3 separate regions of the Homo sapiens genome follow, and regions 1 and 2 are each linked to region 3. The links are contacts of gene promoters, found by promoter capture Hi-C in blood cells and fetal thymus (Javierre and others, 2016). All regions are on one chromosome and are shown on one strand. The core of a region is centred on a gene start or on the middle of the fragment in contact, and the rest is flanking DNA. Distances in the headings are between cores, read along the strand shown.

Region 1 (4,348 bases), core at 863-3,362, 1.6 Mb after region 3:
TTTTAACTTTAGTGTATTGTCCATTTGGTCCTGAGGCTCAGGAAAAGAAAAACAGGTGGAAAATCCATATGAGGTCATATGAAACTTTTACAATTAGTAATGCCTTTGTCTTATTAGTGTAATGTAGTGGAAAGCTCATAAAACTTTGGAATTAGACAGACTTGAGCTTAAATACTGGTTCTTTACTTATTGATCATGTAGTATATCACTGTTGTAGTATATTCATTGGTAAAATGACAATTTTTAACTCATGCTTGTTCTGAGGATTAAATTCGCTAATTCATTCAACATGTATTGATCTGGCATATATTAAGGGTCAGGCACTGTTAAATATAAACGACAACGTTTTTGGGGATGCAGTAGTTAACAAAACAGACAAAATTCTCTGCATTTATGGAGCTGATATTCTAACAGGGGTCAGCAAACTGTGTTGCATGTACCAAATCTGGCCCACTGCCTATTTTTGTAAATTTTTCTTGGAGCATAGCCATATCCACTCATTTACGTATTGTTTATGGCTGCTTTAAATAGTTAGGATAGAAACTGTGTGGCTTGCAAAGCCTAAAATATTTACCGTTTGGCCCTTTACAGAAAAGATTTGCCAACTTCTGCCTTAGATCACTGATTTGAAACCTTTTTTCTCTAATATAAGCAAGTAACATCCTACAAATTTTTATGTTGTTTCAGTCTCTTCAAAATACTTTCTAATCTTCCTTGTTATTTTTTGTATGACCCATTGTTTATTTAAAGGTGTGTCAGTTTCCAAATATTTGGTAATTTTCCACATAACTTTTTAAAAATTTTTCAGTTTAATTCTTTTGAGGTCAGAAAACACACTTTATAGTTTCAGTCCTTTTAAATTTGAGACTTGCTTATGGCCCAGAATGTAGGCTATTTTAGTGACTGTTCCATTTGCACTTGAATATATATTCTGCTCTTGTTGGGTACAGTGTTCTGTAAGTGCCAATTGGATCAAATGGGCAGTTAGTATTGTTCAAGTGTTCTGTGTCTTGTCAATTACTGAGAGAGCAGTCTTGAGATCTTCAGCTATAATTGTGGATTTGTCTGTTTTTCCTTTCAGTTATACCACTTTTTCCTTTATCTGTTTTAGAGCTGTTACTACTTGCATTTATACACATTTAAGCTTACATTCTCTTAATGAATTGATCTGTCATTTTGTCTCTTCAATAATATTCCTTTTATTGAAGTCTACTGTCTGATGCTGATATAGTCACTCTTCAAAGTATGTTTCTCCATTCTTCTGCCTGTAACCTATGAACACCTTTATTTTTAAGTAGGTTTTTGTAATCATATAGTTAGATTGTTATCTTATAATCTCTAAATCATAATTGGAGGTTTAGACCATTTACAATTAATGTAGTCATCAATATGGTTGGGTTTAAATCTATCAGGATATTTTTTTTTCTGTTTACTTCATCTGTCCTTTTTGCCCTTTGATTTCTTTGGGATCAATTACGTATTTTTTGAGTATTTTATCTTCACTGTTGGATTACTTTTTAGTGGCTTCTCTAGGGTCTACCATATACATATTTTAATCACAATCTACTTCAAGTAATATATCACTTTATATATAATGTAAGAATTATACAATAGTAAACTTCTGTTTTCTGCCTTATTGTGTGTTCTTTAGTGATAGTTAATTCTGCATGTGACATAAACCTTATACTTCGCTATTATTTTTGCTCTAAACACTCGACTATCTTTTTAAGTAATCTTTGAAAATGAGGAAAAATCTTTTATATTTTTCCAACATATTTTCTGTTTGTTGCACTTTTTCTGTGCAGAGATCTAGATTGCCATTTGATGTTTTTTTCCTTCTGCTTGAAGGACATCCTTTGATGTTTGTTGTAGCACAAATTCTATAGATGTCTCTCAGGTTGATCTTTTTCAATATTTGCTTTTAAGCTGTGTTAAGATTAGTTGAGAGTAGCCTTTAGTTGCAGTTTAATTTATAGCCCCACTACTGAGAAAGTTTTCTTCGGAGGACTCTGCCTGATGCTCCATATATTACAAAATCTTTCCTCACTGTTTGGTAGGATTGTGAATTGTTCCTAGACCTGTGTTAGTTTTGGGCTTTTTTTTTTTTTTTTTTTTTTTTGCCTAATGCTTGCTTAATGGTTCTTTTTCAGGCTTTGACTAATTTCTTCTCATATATGCACATATTCATACTCTGCTAAAGACTTGAGACCTTCTTCCTCTGCAAATCTGAGCTCTCACTCTGTATAATGACCTCCTTTCTGGTATTTTCAGATCTCAAATTGTAGTTGCCTCAGGCTCTCTGAAGCCAACAAAATTGCTGAGTTTGACTTCCTGTACTGCAGCTTGCAAATTCTCTCCAGGCAGTAAGCTGGGGGAAATTGTAGACCTATCTTGTTGGCTTCCCTTCTTTCAGAAATGGTAGTCCCGTACTGTGTGTGGTCTAATGTCCGAAAGCCACTTTTTCATGTCAGTTTGATTTTTCTAACTGTTTAATATCATTAATAACATGTTTGAATTTATGTCATTGTGTATTTACTGATGGTTTTCTTAGTACAAATCCCTAGAAATAGAATATCTTTGTCAGTATTTTAGGGATTTTGATATATCACAGAGTTACTGGCCAGAAAAATTATCCCAGTTTACTCTCACACTGTTTCTACTCTATTACCAACACTGGTATCAGCTTTTTAAAAGCTATATTATTTTCTTGCGTTATTTGGCATTTCTTTATAAAGCTGCTCTCTGGGATTGTTTAAGGGGCAGCCGTACCTTACTCTTCAGGAGGGCATTTAATCATTTTCTCTCTTGTTTTGGAGACCTTCCTTTTGGCTTCTAGCAATTATCTCTCTTCAAATTCCAGTGTTGCTCTCTTTAGTTATATTAAAAAACAACATTGATAATGAGTATTCTGTGTTAGTGAATGTATCTTAGGAGATCCACTGTAACAAGCATGTATGTGAATGTGTGTGCATTTCTTCTGTTTACAATATTTTGAACAAGCTCTAAATGTGGGATAGAATAAAATACAGCTATTTTTATCTCCTGTGGTACTCTTTAACCTATTCTGTTAGGGAAGCTTTTCCTCTGCTGTTAATGAATACTCAGGCTGCATGACATTTCAGCTCACTCTAGGAAAATAAACAGCTCTTAAGTGACTTTAATTCATAAACTCAGTCTTCATTCAGACATTAGAGGGTCCATTCCAAAACAGTGAAAAATGCTTTAATAATCATTCAAAAGCAATGCATCTCCTCATTTTTGATCTCCCAGCTACAGTCTGCCTGCATTTGAAGAAGGTTATATAGTATGCTTTTGCTTTTTCTCTACTCCCCTCCTCTTCCAGCTCACTGTTTGGCACCCACCAGGATCAAAATTCAAGAGAAAGGGAAGGCAAGGAAATAGGGCAGGAAAGATTTTACATAGCAGGAGACTGGTAATCCTGTTTGCTGGCTCCATGATCTCTGGTCCATAAAAATATTTAAAGCTGATCCCTTCCTCTCTCTGTGTGTGTGGAGTGGGGTGAGCAGTTGTCTTTAGAGACCCCCTTCTTGGTTCCTCCTGCAGCGGCTGCTCCTATGGGTGATGGCTGGATGCTTCCCCAGCAGCTTCTGACTTTCCTGCGGTCCACTTAACATATAGACTCTTACCGGTGGAGTCCCTCTTCCTGGGCTATCCTGTTGACAAAGCATTAACCTGTTGAGGTTGTTCCTCTCTCACATGGCCCCCATCTGGGAAGCACTCACATTTCTTCTACTGCCTCCAGTGATAGTGTAGTTACTTCCGCAAAACAGCCCCTTTAATTTTCTCAGGTAAGAGTCAGGCAGCACTCCCTATCTGCACTCCCCATCTTTCAGGCTCTGATTTGTCAATGGAGTGAGCAGCAGGCATACCCTTACCCCTTCCTTGGTTGCTGAGAAATGTAGGGGTAGTTAGAATACTTTTCATGAAATAAATCCTTCATACAAAACCTTTGCTATTCCTATACTGTATTCCTTCAGCCTGCTGAGGGTCCCAAGAGCCTTGGGATGTGCTTTTGACTATTTCCTTTGTAAATTCTACTTCTGAGCATCTATCCTACATGCTGGTATCCCCTAGCTCTTCTATCAGTTAAAAGTGAGACAGCAAGATCTCATCTAACATCTGGTTACCAACCACTTTTGCTCATGAGCCTGCCTTTTTTTGTTGCCATTAATCCTCCCTATTTATCATATTTAATTCTGCACGTGATATAAATCTTATAATACTTTGCTATTATTTTTGCTCTAAACAGTCAACTGTCTTTTAAGTAATCTTTAAAAATGAGGAAAAAAACTCTTCAATATTTTTCCAGCATATTTGCCAATTCAAG
Region 2 (4,643 bases), core at 1,573-4,072, 1.5 Mb after region 3:
ACCTTCAACAAAGATCACCTGGGTTAATTTGCTACAGTATGAATTGTGTTTAAAAACATTCTTTGTAAAATCAGTGGAGTGTGTGTATAGGGTAGAGTGAGGTGGTTAAAAATTAAAACTAAACTCCAATAAATGACAAGTTGGTCTTACTGCCCTGGTAGAGAATGAAGAAAAGTTTGCATTTTCCAAAGGAAGCTAACAACCCCTGAGTATCTTCTATAGTCCAGGCACAGGGCTTCTGTATATAACATCAGAATATGTTATATACATACATAACCTCAGGGAAACTGTGGATAAGCGGTGGGGGGGGGGGTCTACTGTACATATAAAAACACCATGTATGCCATAAATATATACATTTGTTACCTGCATAAATATATACATTTATATACAATTAAAATTAAAACTAAACTCCAATAAATGACAAATTGATCTTACTGCCCTAGTGGAGAATGAAGAAAAGTTTGCATTTTCCAAAGGAAGCTAGTATCCCCTGGATATCTTCTATAGTCCTGCAACAGGGCTTCTGTATATAACATCATTTGATCCTTACTACATTCCTAGAAAACAATTATCATCTTTTTGTAAACTTAAAATACCTTCTCCCCCCATGAAAAAGAGATGCAGTGGTTAAGTAATTTTCCTAGATTCATACAACTGTGGCAGAATTGGAATTTGAAGCAAGGGTATTTTTTGATCCCAAGAGCATGATCTATTATGGCACACTATCTCCTAAACTAGATGTTGGGTTTCTTAGGATACAATCTGTTGTAGTATAAGTTGACCTGTTAGTAAATAGATATCAAATGTCAACAAATATTGTTAACTGAATATATGAATAATGAAAAAAACAAGTACCTGCAGGTTCTTCATTGTCTTGAGCCCTTCTCAGATTACCTGGAAAACATCTTCACTTTATGCTTTTAACTTTTGATTATCTGGGTAAACATGTCTTCCCTAAAATACTTTTGAAGTATATTTTTTTGCAGAGAGTGTGGCAAGCTCTTTGGTAATTTCTAACTGTAGTGAAAACTATCAGATGAAACAAAAAAATAGAATTCTTGACAAGCCTGTAGTTATATGCTTTTATTTGTGGGCAGGGGAGAGGTAGTGAGGGTTAATGGGTACCAAAAATTAGAAAGAATGAATAAGACCTTCTGTTTGATAGCACAATAGGGTGACTATAGTCAATAGCAACTTAATTGTACATTTAAAAATAGCTTCAAGTGTATTCGGATTGTAACTCAAAGGATAAATGCTTGAGGGAATGGATACCTTAATGTAAAAAGCCTCTATAGGTATATAGGGGAAATGAGTTTTCTTCCAACTTCCTCTCTATGTGGGATTTGTGTTTCTCAGCATATTGAAATAGTTAGGGTGATCTTACTGCACAGACTGTTGAGCTGTGGATGAACTCTTTAATTTTCTTCCCCTTCCAGCTATAAGGGCCTGACTCTTCACTTTTGGGTGGAGGTAATGACAGCAGAGTTATACAGGAAGAAATAGAACACTCACAAAGATTTATTTTATATCAAAAAATGAGAAGTGGAGTATGAGAGGTTTCAAAAAACATGGAGAGAAGCATATTGTAGTAGAAAGGCCCTGAGGTAGAAGGCCAAATAAAACCTTGGATCTGGTCTTGCTTTAATACAGTTTTGGGTAAAGTACAAGATCCTTCTAAGCTTCAAAAATTTGACCTGTGAAATGAATTGGTTGGATTAGATATATGCACTTTTTAAGTGTGTCTAGGAGATATCCTCAACTTTATCTTACGATCCTTCTGTTGGCCTGTTTATTCAGGCTATCACACTTGTAATTTCTAATATATTAAAAAATATATGTTTAAAACAGAAGCAGATGAATAGAAAAGAGGGAAAACTCTTTGTGGCTCAAGCCCTTTCTGTCTCTGCCTAGACTTATTTCTCAGGGTTTGAGCAGTGTGCTGGCATATTTTTAGGGGAAGAAAAGAATGATGGATATTTATGCTGTCACCTTGACCACTTCAGGTTGTGTCTGTCTGGGAGACTGTTAGGCAGTGGATGTGAGCTCATAACTGGCATGTTAAGGTAGCAGTATATCAGGATTCAGATGTTATTCTTTCTTTTTAGCCTGGCTGTATAGTGAGAATAAAGGAGAGGTGATATTGAGTATGAATGATTGCTACAGAATCTGCTTTCTTGTTTTCTTTTGTGCATAGTGTGGATGAAGTAGGGGAAAGGGAAAAGTTTACAACTGATTGCTCATGAATATTCACTAGGTGACTCATTTGGGACCAAATAGTACACAGTGGTAAGGCTAGACTTACCTTCCTTGTAGATAATGGTTTGTTCCTTTTATGTAGCCTCCATAAACCTTAAGCCCCATAGGAGGATGAGTTGTTTTGTAAGGTGTTTTTGTCCCTCTAGGAGGCATTCTTTGACATTTAAGATTGAACCTGGGGCCCAACTCTGTAGGTATGTGTTTTGTTCATATTGGCTTTAATTTCTTAGAGAGCAGTGCTCATGTCTTAATACTTAACTGTGTTGGAATAAATAGTACAGGACTTGACACATGGTGGGTTTACAGTAAATACTTGTTGATTAATGGAAGATTGGGTTACCAGAAACTGATGCTTGATGACACCATTGCTATGAATTTGAATTCCAGTATATGGACTTTTCTTTCTACTTTCATTCTTTTGGGTGGCCACAAATGATGGAGTTAGAACTTTCCCTTATGTAATAGAAGACATCTGTTACAAGGGGACTTCAGTGATAATCTGTGGATAAAATATCCATCCTACTTTTAAGTATGAGTCACTTAAAGCGCCAGGCTTTTGAAGAGGGGGATAGTATCACAGACAGAAAGGTGAAATGGTGGTTATGGAGGCTGGGGGTGAGGGGTTGGTGAGATGTTGGTCAAAGGATACATAATTTTATTTAGGAGGAATAAATTCAAGAGATCTGCGGAACACCATGGCGACTATGGTTAATAATATATTTTATACTAGAAAATTGCTTAGAGATTTTTAAGTGTTTTTACCATAAAAAAGTGTGTGCATTTATAAATAGCTTGATTTAGCTGTTCAACAATGTATATAGTATCCTCCCTTATCCAAGGGGAATATGTTCCAAAACCCCAGTGGATGCCTGACCTGTGGGTAGTACCAAACCCTATATAAGTTGTTTTTCCTACATATGTGTATCATTCATTTTAATTTACAAATTAGACTATGAGACATTAGTCACAATAACTAATAATAGAACAGTTATAACAATATACTGTAATAAAAGTTATAAGAATGCATTCTGTCTCTCAAATCTTATTGTACCGTACTTTCCTGGGGTGACAGACCTCAGAAAGGGAAACTGTGGATAAGGGGGGTCTACTATCCATATAAAAACACCATGTATGCCATAAATATATACATGTATTACCTGTATAAATATATACATTATATACAGTTATTACCTGGCAATTAAAAACGTGTATATATAAAGGAGATAATGAAATTATCATTTGTCTATCAATTGAATAAATTGCTACACACACAAAGTAAAGCTGTATCTCCAAATGATTATCAATTTTTTTTTTTTAATATTTCAGGGATGTGTTTGTTCCTTTTCCACCAGTGCTCATCGCCATACCAAGTTTTATACAGATCCAGTAGAAGCTGTAAAAGACATCCCTGATGGTGCCACGGTTTTGGTTGGTGGTGAGTACTAACACTGTTTTCATGTTATGGTAATGTCCTTATGTTTTTAAATGAAGCAGGCAAATCACAATGACAAAGATGTATAAAAATGATAATTATTTTATTATGCATTATTTATTGTACATATTATAATATCATCTATTTTATTAGTGTCTCCTTCCTAAAAGTTTAGCAAGGTTTAGCACTTAATATTTTACTTTCTCTGTGTGCGTGCATGTGTGTGTGTATGTGTATTTGTGTGTTTCTGTTTTGAAAAACTGAAGCTTCAAAGTAGTCAGGTTTTATTAATAGCTTTGAAAAAAATCCCTAGATCCCAATTTTTTAACTTAAAATGTTTGCATTAATCTCATAAGCTTACACCTTCAGAGACCCCGTAGACATGTATTGACCTCCCCCACTGCCAATTCTATTGCTGCTTCTTGTTTGGACTCTCGAGGGAGTTTCACTTTGTCACCCAGGCTGGAGTGCAGTGGTGCGATCTCAGTTTACTGCAACCTCTGCCTCTCGGGTTCAAGCCATTCTCCTGCCTTAGCCTCCCGAGTAGCTGGGATTACAGGCACCCACCATCACTCCTGGCTAATTTTTGTATTTTTAGTAGAGATGGGGTTTCACCATGTTGGCCAGTCTGGTTTCAAACTCCTGACCTCTAGTCATCTGCCCACCTTGGCCTCCCAAAGCGCTGGGATTACAGGCGTGAGCCACCCACACCCAACTTGCTGCCTGCTTCTGATAAATAATGTCAAGGATTATTTTTAGCATTGATCTCCACTCATTCAAGTAAGTCATTGAATGTTCATTTTAAACCCAATACAATTTGAGTAATCATGGAAAATATAAAGAAATGACAGTTTTGGGCTTAGGCTTCCAACTATGCAAAATCTACTCAGACATATTAACATTCTTGAAAAAGTTGTAGAAAAACTGATTTACAAAGCAGGAAAACAATAGA
Region 3 (4,318 bases), core at 1,121-3,620:
TGTTCAGAGATTGCAGTAAAGACAGGCGTAAGAAATTATAAAAGTATTAATTTGGGGAACTAATAAATGTCCATGAAATCTTCACAATTTATGTTCTTCTGCCATGGCTTCAGCCGGTTGGTCCCTCCATTCGGGGTTCCTGACTTCCTGCAACACTGGAGTGGCTCACAGAACTCAGGGAAATACTTACATTTAACGGTTTATTATAAGAGACAGTACAGAAGATACAGATGAAGGCCAGACATAGTGGCTCATGCCCGTAATCCCAGCACTTTGGGAGGCCAAGGCAGGAGGATCGCTTGAGGCCAAGGTATGGGGGAAGGGATGCAGAGCTTCCATGCCTTCCCTGGGCACGCCACCCTCTAAGAACCTCCACATGTTCAGCTATCCAGAAGCTCTCCAAACTCTGCCCTTTTGGGGTTTTACAAAGGCTTCATTACATAGGCATGATTAACAACCATGTAGAAATGTGATTAGACAAAAAGCACATAATCTAAACCCAGCAAGTCCTGCCTGTTCAGGCTTTTCTTGGCCTGTGTAGCATTCCTTCCTCTAGAGTATGGGACAGAACCCTTTCTGGAATGAGGATCTTATGACCCACAATCAGATTAGAGTCCTGCCTTGGGCAGGTGAAAGAAAAACAGAAGGTCAGAGAGAGATTCCGTTTCCTGAGGCCTGTTCCTGAAGCCTAAAGTGCCCCAACATTATAATATAAAAAAAAGACTGGGCTGGGCACAGTGGCTCATGTCTGTAATCCCAGCACTTTGGGAGGCCAAGGCGGGTGGATCACAAGGTCAGGAGTTCAAGACCAGCATCTTGCCAAGATGGTGAAACTCACTCCAGCCTGGGCAACAAAGCGAGACTCTGTCTCAAAAAAAAAACAAACAAACAAACAACAAAAAAAAACTGTAACAAGGGTTATGGGAGTTATAAGCCAGGAACCATGGATAAAAGCCAATATATATATCATAACACCACAACCCGAGACTGAGCAATTTATAAATAACAGAAATGTATTCTCTTACAATTATGGAGGCTGGGAAGTCCAAGATCAAGGCTCCAGTGATTTCAGTTTCTATTTCCAAGATGATGCCACTTTGCTGCATCTTTTGGAGAGAAGGAGCATTGTGTACTCACCTGGCAGAAGAGCAGAAGGTACCAACCCATTCCCACAAGCCCTTTTTATAGTAGCATTCATCCATTCATGAGGGTGGAGCCATCATAACCTAAACATTGTCCATTAGGCCCTATCTCCCAGCACTATTAGGGATTAATTTTCAACATGAGCTTTGGAGAAGAAAAAAATATTCAAACCACAGCAGTAATTTGAAAACATAAAAAGAAATGGGTGAAATTAATTTTAATAATATATTTTATTTAACCCAAAAAGTCCAAAATACTATCATGTAATCAATAAACAGTATAAACATTATTAACAAGATATTTTATATTTTTTTCTGTACCCAGTCTTTGAAATCCAGTGTGAATTTTATACCCATAGTACATCTGAGTTTGGACTACTCATATTTCAAGTGCTCAAGAGCCACATGTGGGCTAGCGGCTACCACATAGGACAACACAGTTCTAGAGGAAGCATGGCATGACTTTGGAGGTCATCTAGTCTGACTTGTTATTTACAGCAAAGTTAAGTACGTTGCCTGAGGTTATACAACTTATTAGTAGATGAGGAACAATTAGAATCCAATTATCTTCATGCTACCCCATGCTTTTATTCACAAAGCTGATTGGCAGCAAAGCTGCACTAGCGCTCATGCCTCTTCACACCTGCTCTTGGGCTCTTTTCTACAAGGCATTGCCCCCCTTCCTGTCTTTCTCCTAAATAAGCTATTGTAAAAAGCTTCACTGGAAACAATTTGGCTGTGAACCAAGACTAAAGTGGGGTTTAATACTTCCATATCTTTCCACAAAGATACATTTTTTATGACTTGTCACCCTTGTCCCCAGAAACTCATGGTTTCCATAAGCTACTTAAAAACTGATTATGCAATGGGTCTCAACATAAGTGTCCATCAGAATCACCTATAGAGCTTTTACAAAATTCAAATGACTGGTCTCCTACCTGGGAGTTCTGGTTTACAAATCAGGGAAAGGGGAGAGTCATTTAGATTGATTTTTTTTAATGTTCCCCAAATGATTCTGATGCACACCCCACCTCACAGTGACCCTGCCAGCTGCCAGATCTCCATTGACATCCCCTGACCCCCAGGCAGGATGAACACAAGTTAGGAGCTTAATAAGTCGAGGAGGAGCCTGGTCTTAAGGAAAGAAACATGAGAAATAGATACCCTGAACACCTCCCAGGGCGGGGCCACCTGGCTTACTTTTCCTCTGCACTTTCTCTGTGCCCAAGGACACCTTTAGCCTCATTTCCTGATCGAACAGCCTCACTTGTGTTGCTGTCAGTGCCAGTAGGGCAGGCAGGAATGCAGCAGAGAGGACTCGCCATCGTGGCCTTGGCTGTCTGTGCGGCCCTACATGCCTCAGAAGGTGAGTGGGGGCACTGGACACTTAGGCCTTCACTGGAAAGGGGGGTATCTCCCAAATCTGTGCTGGAAGGATTGAGGTGGGGCAAGAATATCTATCTCTTCAAGCAGGAATTTCCAATTGATTTCTGATTACCTACAAGAGAATGACATAGCTTTAAATTCTAGATCTCCCAGAAGTTTCAGGAAGGAACCTCATTCTAACAGGCATACTACAAATTTTTGCCACCTGGAGGATGAGGTCCTTCCATGTAGGTACAACTTCGAGCTATGTTTCCTTTTCTGAAGACAGTATCTTAGAAAATCCCCAGCTAGAGGCTGGAGTAAAGCCCCTACTATTCATCTGTCTTCCTCCACACCCCAACCTGCTAAACGGTCTGAACACAACTGTGCACATTCCTGGAGGGAAATACAGACTTGGCCAGCTGCGTTCAAATTAGGTAAGTTGTAAATTTCCTGAGCAAAGTCAGCTCTATGGATACAGAAAACTGAAACTTCAGTCTGACCTTTAAAAAGGGAGGGCAGAGCTGAGCACAGTGGTGCATGCCTGTATTCCCACCTACTTGGGAGGCTACGGCTGGAGGATAGCTTCAGGCCAGGAATTCAAGATTGCAGTGAGCTATGATCACACTGTGAATTGCCACTGCACTCTGAATTGCCACTGCACTCCAGCTTGGGCAACATAGTAAAACCCCATCTGTTAAAAACAAAAAGAGGGGAGGGGAGGGGAAAGAGAAGGAAAGGAAGAAAGGAAAGGAAAGAAAGAAAAAGAAGAAAAGCAGGATGAGGGAGATTGAACCATACAAATTATGTCAAAGAGAATTTAAATCGTGAGTTGCTAGCATGTATTTGGAGATTGTAACTGCATTTGAACTAGAGGGAATCTCTTCTAAAGTAGCACTCACTACTATATTCAGGAAACCCTAAGTGTCAGTACTTAATACTTGACCAATGACTCTTTTCCATTGTCATCTTTTCTTTAAGCTTTATCCTGAACAGATTCTCTAAGTCTAGAGCAGAGGTGGAATATAAGTCTTTGGTCTGCTTTTTAAAAATCTGAGCCAACATTTTAAAACTGAAAGCTTTCTCATGTACATACTCATACATACACACATACAAATTGGATTTTAAAGCTTCTCTTGAGAAATCAGATGTGGCAACAATGATTCCACCATACCATGGCAAGAACTGGCTAAAGCAGATGAGCCTCTGAAGTTTGCTGTATTAACTGCCTGGTCCCTGCAGGCATTTGCTTAGGGACTCCCAATATAGTCCGTCAATGTACTGGGCTTATACAAATAAGCAACAGAAAAAACCTGGACAATCTCTTCTCAATTTCTACTAATCTATCTATCTTATCAATATAAAGACAAAAATTTGTCACTTTATGTTTCTGTAACATTTCTCAGAAAAATTCACCATTGAGATTTGGGGACTCATTTTCACTATTTCTGAAAGGCCTACCTGCTAAGGCTTCACTCCTAGTTCTGGTAATTCCACCAACTCAAATTTTTTACATAAAACTTTGAAATGTGTACCTCCATCCAGCTTCCTGACCTACTCCCACCTGTCCCCACAGCGGCAGCTCTCCTACAGGAAAGGAGGGAGGGAACAGCAGGTCGAGGAGGCAGAGGGTAATGAGGAAGGCTCTGCCATACCCAGGACCCACCTTCACATGGGACTGAGTCCTGGTAGAGACGGTGGGGTGGAACGGCAAAATGCAGAGGTGTGTGAAAAGGTACGGCTGCTGGTGATAATAAGGAAGGGAGCCGAGAGACCCAGCAATAGCCTTTTGGGTTAGTCTCGATGCTTTA

Evidence for each region. Contacts are between HindIII fragments. The CHiCAGO score rates a contact against its expected background, and 5 or more counts as called.
Region 1: a fragment that was not itself captured here is called in contact with the fragment with the promoter of CCL28 in region 3 in 1 of 17 cell types (neutrophils); the score reaches 6.2 in neutrophils.
Region 2: a contact is called between a fragment that was not itself captured here and the fragment with the promoter of CCL28 in region 3, in 1 of 17 cell types (neutrophils). The highest score is 5.5, in neutrophils.

Annotation. Positions count from the first base shown.
Region 1 is chr5:41,785,406-41,789,753 of GRCh38, reverse strand. All of the region lies in intron 13 of OXCT1 (3-oxoacid CoA-transferase 1), which reads left to right. Among named protein-coding and RNA genes, the nearest start is that of OXCT1-AS1, 82 kb to the left of the region's middle. The HindIII fragment of the contact is 1,932 bases long and covers 1,147-3,078 here.
Region 2 is chr5:41,861,693-41,866,335 of GRCh38, reverse strand. It overlaps OXCT1 (3-oxoacid CoA-transferase 1), which reads left to right. Exons shown (of 17, transcript NM_000436.4): 2 at 3,586-3,694. LOC102723752 (a long non-coding RNA gene) reads right to left here and starts at 3,148. Exons shown (of 3, transcript XR_925956.4): 1 at 1-3,148. The HindIII fragment of the contact is 2,275 bases long and covers 1,685-3,959 here.
Region 3 is chr5:43,410,443-43,414,760 of GRCh38, reverse strand. CCL28 (C-C motif chemokine ligand 28) reads left to right here and starts at 2,370. Exons shown (of 3, transcript NM_148672.3): 1 at 2,370-2,508. The coding sequence starts at 2,445. The HindIII fragment of the contact is 1,630 bases long and covers 1,861-3,490 here.